3 separate regions of the Homo sapiens genome follow, and all the other regions are linked to region 2. The links are contacts of gene promoters, found by promoter capture Hi-C in blood cells and fetal thymus (Javierre and others, 2016). All regions are on one chromosome and are shown on one strand. Each heading gives the region's core, a stretch centred on a gene start or on the middle of the fragment in contact. The rest is flanking DNA. Distances are from core to core; before and after follow the strand shown.

Evidence for each region. The method cuts DNA at HindIII sites, captures the fragments that hold promoters and counts their contacts. A CHiCAGO score of 5 or more calls a contact.
Region 1: a fragment that was not itself captured here is called in contact with the fragment with the promoter of MATN3 in region 2 in 1 of 17 cell types (M2 macrophages); the score reaches 5.2 in M2 macrophages.
Region 3: a fragment that was not itself captured here is called in contact with the fragment with the promoter of MATN3 in region 2 in 3 of 17 cell types (M0 macrophages, M2 macrophages and M1 macrophages); the score reaches 8.3 in M0 macrophages.

The regions. Positions count from the first base shown.
Region 1 is chr2:20,264,935-20,268,631 of GRCh38, forward strand. All of the region lies in intron 13 of PUM2 (pumilio RNA binding family member 2), which reads right to left. Among named protein-coding and RNA genes, the nearest start is that of SDC1, 42 kb to the left of the region's middle. The HindIII fragment of the contact is 7,281 bases long and covers 1-3,697 here.
Region 2 is chr2:20,010,612-20,014,554 of GRCh38, forward strand. MATN3 (matrilin 3) reads right to left here and starts at 2,057. Exons shown (of 8, transcript NM_002381.5): 1 at 1,798-2,057. The coding sequence starts at 2,020. RefSeq lists an enhancer at 1,161-1,773. The HindIII fragment of the contact is 3,809 bases long and covers 587-3,943 here.
Region 3 is chr2:20,240,499-20,244,612 of GRCh38, forward strand. It overlaps the pseudogene DRG1P1. Among named protein-coding and RNA genes, the nearest start is that of SDC1, 17 kb to the left of the region's middle. RefSeq lists silencers at 637-783, 1,818-2,047. The HindIII fragment of the contact is 3,794 bases long and covers 441-4,114 here.

The DNA.
Region 1 (3,697 bases), core at 587-3,086, 250 kb after region 2:
CCTATTACATAGCATATTATGCATTATTTATTTGAATCCCCAGCCCCATCTCCAATCCAAGAGCCATAAAATTAATTTACATGCTAGCTACCTGGTGCCTGGAACAATGTCTAGACCAGCCTGACCAACATGGTGAAATCCCACCTCTACTAAAAATACAAAAAAAAATTAGCTGGGCGCGGTGGCGTGCACCTGTAATCCCAGCTACTCAGGAGGCTGAGGCAGGAGAATCGCTTGAACCCGGGATACGGAGGTTGCAGTGAGCAGAGATTGCACCACCGCAGTCCAGCCTGGGTGCCAGAGCGAAACCGTCACAAAAAAAAAAAAAAAGGCATGTAATTTAAGAAGCTATCTTACACACCAAAATCACTAAGATCAAATTCTTGTTTGGTCCAGTTATACTTAACTATCTCAGCACCCATGCATGATATTCAAAACGTTCAAGAGTTCAGTGTTTCAATACTGTCTCACTACTGCCAGCCTTTCCACTTCCATTATTTGTTTACGTATTTCTAACTGTTCGTAACAATAATTGATCACTAGCCCATCTGATTCTTTAAAATTGGGTCCTTATCACATCTGCACAGCCACTGGGTTTTCTCTAGCATCTTTGCCCTTTTAGAAGGGCAGGGGTGCTTTGCTTATCATTTCAATTTGGTTAAAATTTTTTCTTAATCAGCTGAATTTAAGATTCACCAATCCAATTTTATACACATCAATTGTATTTTTCCTTTCAAAGTCCATTTTTGATGATGTCACTTTATGATAAAAACCTACAGCATCCTGATAAGAGTACTTGCTCTAAGATCTTCAACCTAGTTTTCAAGTCATTAATCCAAACCTATTTTTCACACAAATTTCTTAGTAGTACCCTAACTGTTCACATCCCCCACCCCACTTACTCGTTACTATTTCTTATCATTACCTCAAACACCCTTAATGCATTAAAGATTTTCGACACCAAATTCAAAATACGTACTCACCCCAGGAAATGAAGAAGCCGGTTTTATTTGGTACCTCCCAAATATCCTGCCAATAAGCAACAGGAATTTCTCCCATATCTAGGTATTCTTTTATTGATATTCTATCAGCTCCTAACAACAGAACTCCTGTGCACATCGTATACAATATCTAATAATATTACACTGCCTTGAATTTTAAAAAACCATAGACATTCAGTTCTAGAAGACTAAGTGGTCTTCTCATATATGAAATTTACAAATTTGGCCAGGCGCGGTGGCTCACGCCTATAATCCCAGCATTTTTGGGAGGCTGAGGAAGGCACATAGCTCGAGGTCATGAGTCTGAGACCAGCTTGGGCAACATGGCAAAACCCCATCTCTACAAAAAATACAAAAATTAGCCAGGAGTGGTGGTGTGTGCCTGTAGTCCCAGCTACTTGGGGAGGGTGAGGTTGCGAGGATCGCTTGAGCCTGGGAGGCAGAGGTTGCAATGAGATGAGATTGTGCCACTGCACTCCAGCCTGGACAACAGAGCAAGACCTTGTCTCAAAAACGAAACAAAACAAAACAACAACAACAACAACCCCCCCACCAAAAAAAAAAAAAGAGAAAAAGAAAAAAATATTCTCCAGAAACTAATTCACTGAAAGGACGAACTATCACCAATTAATTTCACCCAGGGAAGCATACCTTTTCTCTCACAAATAAGTGTGTAAAACCCAATTTTTAACATACATTAGACATTTTAAATTTTGTTGTCTAAATATTGAAAGCAGGTCATCTAAAATATCTGGAGATTGAGACATTCTATGAAACAGGCCTATACCCTTTAAAAATGTCAAGGTCATAAAAAACAGAAACAGTTCGAGATTAAAGAAAAGAGCAGTGATGAAAGTAATCCGTGATCCTCAATTTGACAATGGGCCCCCATTGTCAATCTCCCTTTCTCTTTCTTATAAAGGTAATCAGTGTGATAAGTAGCAAAGTTGGAATAAAGTTGGCTGCTTTGATTAGTGGTTTATCAGTGTTAATTTCCTGACTTCAGAAATTGTGGTTATATGAAAACATATACTTACTGTCAAGAAACATACACTAATGTACTTTTGAGTAAGGGACATCATGCCTGTAACTTTTTTTTTTTTTTTGAGACAGGTCTCACTCTGTCACCCAGGCTGGAGTGCAGTGATGCAATCTTGGCTCACTGCAATCTCCCCTTCCTGGGTTCAAGTGATTCTCCTGCCTCAGCCTCCCGAGTAGCTGGGATTACAGGTGCGTACCACCATGCCCGGCTAAGTTTGTATTTTTTTTTAGTAGAGACGGGGTTTCACCATGTTGGCTAGGCTGGTCTCAAACTCCTGACCTCAAGTGATCTGCCCACCTCAGCCTCCAAAAGTGCTGAGATTACAGAGGTGAGCCACCACGCTGGCCCACTTGCAACTTCCTTTCAAAAGTAAACCCAAATAGTGTTGTGGATGAGGGGAAGAAGAGAGGGAGAGAGAATCATACAGCCAATGTGATAAAGCGGTAACATCTGGAAAACATGGGTGAAGGGTATAGTTTTGCAATTTTCCCATTAGTCTCAAATTATCCCAGAATTGGTTAAAAACAAACACATAAACAGGTCATCCATATTCATACTTCTGCTGCTGGTAGTCTAAAAGCAGCTATGTTCTGCACCAAAAGTATTAAAAGAGATAAGGTCTTTTCATTTCGTCATTCAGTCCCCACTATCATTCATGACTGTTTAATCACTATCTGCCTAAGAGTGTATATAGGACATGTAGATCAGTACTATAATTCCACAGATGAGGTCACTATGGTCCAATGGTCCAATGGTCCAAAAGGTATGGGACATGCAGCTAGTCAGCCAAGACCCTTAGGCCAGAGCTTATCTCATACGACAGTGTGCCAATCTTCTGTGCTATTTACATCTTTCATGTTCATTCATGAGAACTTTAATTGGTTCCAGGACCCACACAAGAAACCAAAAATCTGTGGAAGCTGAACTCCAGTAGTTTAGCCTTATGTAAACTATGGATACGAAAGGCAAGACCTCCGTATCTACAAGTTTCACCTTTATCCAAGGATGCAGAATCTGTGGAGATAAAGCAGGTCCTCCGCGGGGCAAGGGGTGCTGGGGGAGACCGTAAGTGAAACCACCACAAAATAAAGAAATCTGTCTAGCCTTCATTTTTCATTATTTTCTACCCTCTGGGATTGGAATGACAGCTACTCAATCTATGAGGCCTGTTTAAGAATACAGATTCCTGACCCTTACTTAAGACATAGATAATTACTCCTTCTGGAAAATCCACCTGAAGGATATTCTGATAGAAGAGTATGGGGACTAATTAATTAGAATAAAAATAATTTAATTCTTCATTTTACAACAGATTTTCAACTAGTAATTGCAAATAAAAATCAAAGTAAGTATGCCCCATGCGGTGGCTCAGGCCTGTAATCCCAGCACTTTGGGAGGCTGAGGTGGGCGGATCACTTGAGGTTAAGAGTTCAAGACCAGCCTGGCCAACACAGTGAAACCCCATCTCCACTATATGTATGTGTAAAAAAATTAGCTGGGTGTGGTGGCGTACGCCTGTAGTCCCAGCTACTCGGGAGGCTGAGACAGGAGAATTGCTTGAACCCAGGAGGCGAAGGTTACAGTGAGCAGAGACTGCACCACTGCACTCTAGCTTGGGCAATAGAGCAAGACCCTGTCTAAACAAACAAAACAA
Region 2 (3,943 bases), core at 807-3,306:
GAAAATGGAAGAAAAAGGCCATAAGCCAAGGAACTCAGCAGCCTTCATGCGGTGGAAAGGGAAGGGAAATGCAGTCTCCCCTAGAGCCTCCCAAAAGGAACACAGCCCTGCCGACACCTTCATCTTAGCCCAGTGAGACCAGGGTCAGACTTCTGACCCACAGAACTCTCAGGTAATAAATGTGTGTTGTCTTAAGGCACTAAATTCACAGTAATTTGTTACAGTGGCCATAGAAAACTAATACCTGAGGCTTGACCATGGTGGCAGAAAATTCTGTGAACATCTGGTTCCTTCCTGACTGGTACTCCGCATCAATCATTAGTTGTTTTTGAATCTCACTCCCATTTACTAAATAGCAGCAATTTGATTCCCAAGAACAAAGAAAGAATCTGAATCTCCTAAAATGTTCCCATACTCATAATACCACTGAGTCCTTACAGTCCTGCTAGAAATAAAAATCCATAGCGAAGCTTAGCAATTTCTGGTTGCTAAAAGGAGATAATTTGGAACAGGGTGGAATCTCGCATTTATTAATGGGTTATCATTCATGATCAGGTTCGGACTCTAGGTAATGAAAGACCAGTAAAGCTTAGGGGGACATGGCCACCTGGTGCTGAATCTCTCCTTCCTCTTCCAGTCCCATCCCAGAGGGAGGCAGGTCAGGACTAGAGTAAGATTAACTTCCAGAAGAAAGGCTTTCCCTCAATTCCCGGCCTGGAGCAACCAGCCACCAGCTGAATCTAGCCCTGTGGACCCCGGTACCTCCTGCCTTAGCAGCAATGCTTTTGCCATTTCAAATCTGCCACTTCAAATACGGGGACTGAGTATTTGAGTCAGGAAAGAGTCCCTTGAGCTCCTTCTCAGCTTATCCAGAAAGATGCAGAAGGGGATAGACAATTGAAATCAGCCTGAGGCATGCAGCGTGGCTGGCCAAATGAGACTGCATACCCAGAAATGGCCTGGCACAGACTCTTTTTAGCAAGACTGAAGCTGCGCTTTTTGGAAATGAAGATACAATCTTATGTAAACCATATTAAGAGGTTGGTAGGCTGGGGCAGTGGAAAGAGACCTTGCTTGGGATTTCGGAGCCCTGAATTTTATTGTGGCCTCTGATACTGATTCACAGAGTCCCTTCAACTTGATATGCCTCAGTTTCCCTTCATGTGCTGTCAGGGGCTGTGTCAGACGACCTGCCCGCTTCGCTGCACTATGAGCTTTGCTCTGCTTCAGGAATCAATTGCTGACCAAAAAGAGAAATAGAATTGTTCGCCAAAGACCCAGAGTGTCTTGATCCTGGGGTATCCTACGGCTCCTCGGATCTCCTCCTGGTCTCACACCCGCATCCCTTACCTTCCAGTCTGAGGCAGCCTGAGGACTGTGGGAGGGGAGGAAAGATCACGCCCTGATATTGGATGGAGATGGAGAGATTCCAAGAGAACTAACAGCAGAGTCTCAGGAAGGGTTTGCTCACTGAATGGAGAGGTCAGGACTGGGACGGAGCTTAGCAGCAGCCGCTGGGCAGCAGCCCCTGCGCTCCCCAGCTGCCCTGTGCTCCTGGCCGAATCACAGGGGAGTGAGAGCTTCAGGAGACCCACATCTCTAGCCTGGACACATGAGTGATATTGGGCATCTCCCTCCCCTTCTCTGGACCTCAGTTTCCCCCACAGGATTCATCCGGGAGGGGCCTCTTTCCCCCGCACCACGGTCGGCCTGAGGCCGGGATGAAGCGCGCTTGGTGGATGCCCTGGGCTTCTCCTCGTTCGATGCTCACGCGTCCCTCCCGCCGCCCGCCTGTACCTGCACCGCGGGCGCGGCCAGGCTCGCTGGTCCCGGAAGCGGGCGCGCCGTCGGGAGCCGCAGGAGAGGGGCGGCGTCCAGGGCTGCCCCCGGGACCTCGGGTCTCCAGCCTCCGGAAGCCCGGGCGGGCCACGGGGTCGGGGGCGGCGGAGGGCAGCAGCAGCAGCGGCCAGAGCAGCAGGAGGAGTCCCGGGAGGCGGCGCGCGGGGGCCGGGCGCGGCATGGTGGGCTCCGTGGGCCTGGTGGTGTCCGTCGGGGGCCAGGAGCCCACGCGAGGCTCGGATTTAAAGGTCCCGCGGCCTCGGGCCCCGCCCCGCCCCGGGGCCTCGAGCGCCAGGCCGGCCCGGCGAACCCCGCCCAAGGCCAACAAGGAGCCTTGTCCGCGCATTCCAGCGGCAGAAACGGAATGTCTGGGCGAGGCGGCCAGCGGCGCGGTGGTCACCTCCCGCCCCTGCCCTAAGCCCCGAGCCGGCTGCAACTGGGTGGGCTCGGCTGCTGTCGCAACCTCCGTCCTCCCAGTAACACCGGGGCAGGGGGGGCAGCCATCCGCGGCTGCAGCCTGCCCGGCCCTCCACTCTCCCTCCCACCCCAGCGGGGCCTGCGCCCCAGGTACGGGATGGGGACCCCTGGGCTCTGCTTTCCCTTCTGCCACTGGTTTGCCCGACTGGGGCTGAAGATGAAACCCTGCTCCTAGCTCTACATTCCTTTCCTCAGCCAAGTAACCCAAGTTTTGCTGTGGGCTCTTGTTTAAAAAAAAAAAAAGAAAGAAAAGGCCTCACAGATTCTAGGGGCATGAATAGAAACGCTTTCATCCGAGCTTCAAATATCCACAAACATTTGAACTTATATTACCGGGAATAGAAAGTCAAACATACATTCCCCAGAGAGCCCCGTTAGCTGGAAGGACAGCCTGTACCAACACAGGCTTCAAAGGCTCTCCCGAGGCCCCATTTCCTCTCCGGAAGAGTTAGCATGGTACAGGGCTGGAGGCTGCCAGGGGACCCCCATGGAACTCACTGTCTGTGAGAAGGAGATTTGCATAAATGTGGTGTCTGTCTACGGGAATGTGGTGGATTTAGGAAAGAGATACTGACTGCCTGCGGAGACCAGGAAGACTTCTAAAACCAGGTGACATTTGAGCTGCGTCTTAAAACAATGGGCGCGAGTTCCAACAGAGCCTATCTGGTCGTCCTATTTCACTATTTTCCCTCTACAAGTGATCCTCCTCACACGATCCTAAACCTCACTTCTCATATTTGTACCCCATGCTGGTAGCAGCATTATACACAATAGCCAAGAGGCGGAAACAACCCAAGTGTCTCTCTTTGTGTGAATGGAAAAGCAAAATGCAGTATCTACGTACAATGGAATACTGTTCAGCCTTAAAAGGGAGGAAATTTTGGCAGATGCTACAAAATGGATGAACCTTGAGAGTATTATGTTAAGTGAAATAAGCTAGTCACAAAAAGACAAATACTGTATGATTCCATTTACATGGGGAATCTAGAGTAGTCAAATTCATAGAGACAGAAAGAATGGTGGTTAACAGGAGCTGAGGGGAAGTGGGGATGGGGAGTTGTATAATGTATCAATGACATTGGGCAGTGATAGTCACACTGAGGGAAAAGGTCACTCAACTCCCACTGAGAACTCACCAATTTAGAAGGACCTTAGAAGAAACGAGAAGTTTGTAATAATGGGAAGAGGACACTAAGAAGTTTGAAAGAAACTATGCCAAGAAGAGGAGGGATTGATAAATACAGTATTTGCAAGCTCTGGTGGACATTTGTCTTTCGTCTTGCTTTTAGAATGATCCCCAAAGCCTTTGAACCCTACATTAGTCAGGGTTCTTGAGAGAAACAAAACCAATAAATTTTATATACACATACATATAGAGAGAGGGTGGGGGGAGTAATTGAGATTATGAGGGATTGGTTCATGCGATTATGAAGGCTGAGAAGTCCCACAGTCTGCTGTCTGCAAGCTGGGGGCCCAGGAAAGCCAGTGGTGTAATCCAGTCCAAGCCTGAAGGCCCAAGAGCAGGAGAGCCAATGACATAAGGCCCAATCTGAGTCCAGAGACCCAAGAACCAGGAATGCTGATGTCCAAGGACAGGAGAAGCTGGTTGGCCCAGCTCCAGCAGAGA
Region 3 (4,114 bases), core at 1,088-3,587, 230 kb after region 2:
CTTAAAGCCATTGTTGGGGGGCGGTGGTTGCTGTTCAAGTGAATGCCAAAGACTTCCAGCTCATTTTCAATTATCTTCTTATGTCCCAAAGGTTTCAGGACATCCAGAACAATCAGGATCAAGTTACAGGTTCGGGCCACTGCAATGATCGACGACCTCTACCTTTCCCATCCCTGGCACCTTCAATAATACCTGGGAGATCCAGGAGCTGGATTTTGGCACCTTTGTATCTGATGACACCAGGCACAGTGCTCAGAGTAGTGAATTCATAGGCTGCCACCTCAGAATATACCCCTGCCAGGTTACTAAGCAGTGTCGACTTCCCCACAAATGGAAAACCAACAAATCCAATTCAAGCATCACCTGTCTCGGCCACATCAAAACCTTCTTCTGCACCTCCACCACCACCACCACCCTTTGGAGTAGTGAGTTCTCGACGAAGCTTAGCAAGACGAGCCTTAAGCAGCCCCAGGTGGTGTGCTGTGGCCTTGTTGAGTCCAAGCCATCTCCTCTTCTGTCTCCGCGATCTTAGCTAGGGTGCTGCTCATCGTGGCGAGTACCCTGTGGCCTCCACACTGACTGTCTCCCTTCACACACCCGCGGGCAAACTAGCTCAAGTATAATGCTTTTCAAAAGTAACTCAATGAACTTGGGAGTGTAGGCCTCGGTACAGTGGCCCACAGACCCCTGAGAGCACCATTGTGTGACAGCTCTTCACCGAGAGACACCGCCTTTAAAAACGCGTTTAGGGCCGGGCGTGGTGGCTCATGCCTGTAATCCCAGCACTTTGGGAGGCTGAGGCGGGCAGATCACGAGGCCAGGAGTTTGGGACCAGCCTGACCAACATGGTGAAACCCCGTCTCTACTAAAAATACAAAAATTAGCCAGGCATGGTGGCGTGCGGGTGTAATCCCAGCTACTCGGGAGGGTGAAGCAGGAGAATCGCTTGAACCCTGGAGGCGGAGGTTGCAGTGAGCCGAGATTGCGCCACTGTACTCCAGCCTGGGCAACAGAGCGAGACTCCATCTCAAAAACAACAACAACAACAAACAAAAAACAAAACAGAAAAACGCGCTTACTTCCTACTGGCTTTACAGTGGTGAGCATTACCTAAGCACCTAACTTCAGGCTTTGGGGTAAAGAGAGAGAAACACACAGTCTGGCCTTCCAACAACTCACAGTGTGGGTGGAGAAACGTAAGAAAACAAGCCATTGCAATAATTTGCCATCACCGCCATCATGACCTTGTGCCTGGAGGAGCTGTCCCTGGAATCTGTCTAGGGAAGCTCCAGGGCTGGCTCCAGGAGACGAGGAGGAACTGGCTGGCCAGAGACAGGGGCAGTAGGGTTGTCAGATTTAGCAAATAAAAACAGAATGCCCAGTTAAATTTGAATTTCAGATGAACATTTTTTTTTAGTATAAAATGTATAATTATGTCCTATGCAATGTTTGGGATTTATTTATACGAAAAAATTTAGTCGCCCCACCTGTGGCTTTAGGGCCGACTTGTTCAGGAAGGGAAGAGGAAGAGCACAAGAAGGTTTGGTGCAAGAAGATGGGTTCGGTTCCGGACATGTTTGGCGAAACGGGGCCAGTGGCCACGTGACTGGAGATGTGCGATTCCAGGCTGCAGGATGTCAGGGCTCGGGCTTTAGGGGCGAGGCCTGGGGTCCGCGGTGGTAGGATGTTATGGGAAGTGCCCTGTGATGAGGCTGCAGGCGGTCGTACATGGCAGTTGAGTGGGATGGGTAGAGTTCTTTCCTTGTTCGAGAAGGCAGGGTGTGTCTGAGCAATCCTGTTTAGAAAGATCAACTCCAAGTAATTTAGACGAAGAAACTTCTGGAGCTGGACGGATCCCCCAGGGTGCGCCGCGCCTGGACTGGGAAGGGCCCCCGGACCCGCGGCGCAGGGGAGGGCCGGGCCGCCAGGGGGCGCTCTCGGCGGACGGGGCGGGGGTCCCCCTTGGTGTCTCCCAGGCAGCTTCGCAACAGCCCTGCTGGATTAGGCCCCAATGAGCAAACTGAAGCCCGGGTGGGGAAAGGGCGGGGGGGGGGGGGCTTGAGGGCGTCACCCAGGCGGGTCAGTTGCTTTTTTAAAAAAAATTATTTTTATTTTTTTTATAGGGAAGGCAGGGGCATCTCGCCATGTTTCCCAGGCTGGCCTCGAACTCCTGGACTCAAGCGAGCCTCCGCCTCGGCCTTCCAAAGTGCTGGGATCACCACCGCGCACAGCCACTTTTGCAGCTTTCTAAGGCCGCCCCCAGGCCCTTGCCACCCTGCTGCGTGAGCCAGGCTTGGGCCTGTGGGGAGGGCTCTAGGTCACCTGGTGGCTGCCGTTGTGTCTACAGCTGCCTCTTCCTGTGACAAAGCTGACTCTTTGTCTTCCAGGTCCCTTCTCTAGTTTTCTACCCTACTGTAGAAGAGGGTGGGTAATGGAATATAGATGAAGCTGTCACCCTTCCAAACTCTGGGGGGTGACCCCCTCCCTCCTCTGCTCACAGGTGCCTTCCAAGCCCAGACTCCAGTGCTCAAACCAGAACTGACTTTTGAAGGAGCAGGGCAGAAGAGGACTCCCAGACACCCCTCCTCTTCTCCAGGGCGAGCCCATACACGTGCTTTTGTCCTCATCCCTGCCATAGGAAGGGGCCCACCAGGTGTGACCCGGCTTTCCAAGGCTTCTGGCCATAAAAGGCCAGGGGTGGGAATAAAGCAAGAAAGAGATGAGACTCCGCCCATGTCTCGGGGAGCCCCTCAGCTCTGTAACTGGCACTGCTACCTCCCCTGCCTCCAGTCCCTCTCTACTGCTGCTCTGCCAGCCTGTGCTGGGTCCTCCACACCACCGCACTTGTCACTCACCTGCTCAAGAATCTGTGATGACCCCTATTGTTAACTGAAGCATTGCTTGTATCAAGAATCTCATTCTGTTTCTCCCTCCACTGGGGTGTGCACCTCTTGAGGGCTGTATCCTCAGCATCAAGAATACTTGACACAGGCCGGGCACGGTGGCTCATGCCTGTAATCTCAGCACTTTGGGAGGCCAAGGTGGGCGGATCACTTGAGGTCAGGAGTTCAAGACCAGCCTGGCCAACATGGTGAAACCCCGTCTCTACTAAAAATACAAAAATTAGGCTTAGGTGGGCATGGTGGGCCACGCCTATAATCCCAGCTACTTGGGAGGCTGAGGCAGCAGAATCGCTTGAACCTGGGAGGTGGAGGTTGCAGTGAGCCGAGATTGTGCCACTGCACTCTGCACTCTAGCCTGGGTGACAGAGCAAGACTCTATCTCAAAACAAACAAAAAATGAAACCTGACGCAAAGTAGTTGCTCAATAAATAAGACTATGAAAATGCACTGGCTGCTGCACCCACCTTGCTCTCAATCCCCCAAAGCCATCCCCTCATCCTCTTCATTTTACCTTTCCCTTCCAAGCCCAAGGCACTGATTAGTTTTGAAATCTTGATTCCTGTCTAGATTTAAAGGCTTTGAGTTAGGAATTACTTTTTTTCCCTCCCGCCTAGGACCTCATGCCTTCTCAAAAAATAGGTAAGACCAGCCAGACACAGTGGCTCATGCCTGTGATCTCAGCACTCTGGGATGCTGAGGCAGGAGGATCACTTGAGTCCAGGAGTTTGAGACCAATTCAGGCAACATGACAAGACTCTTGTCTTTACCAAGAAATTTAAAAATGAGCTGGGCACGGTGGTGCATACCTATTGTCCCAGCTACTCAGGAGGCTGAGGTGGGAAGATCGCTTGAGCCTGGGAGGTTGAGGCTGCAGTGAGCTGTGATCATGCCAGCGCACTACAGCCTGGACGACAGAGTGAGACCCTGTCTCAAAAAACAAAACAATACAAAAGATAAGACTGAATGTTCTCCATATGGTCCTATTTGGTCATGGAATGATTTGTGGTGGATTTTCCTCCACTCTTCAGCATTCCTTCCATAACCTGTTTCTGGCCATGAGCTACATGCTGTTTACACAAAAAAGATATGATCCTGAACTGGGTGGAAGGCTTCTGCTCAACTGCATGGGCACCAAAATGTGTGCTGAGGGAAATCACACATGATCTTCTCAAGCAGCTTTTGACTTCCCTCAGGATCCTAGATGACCATGT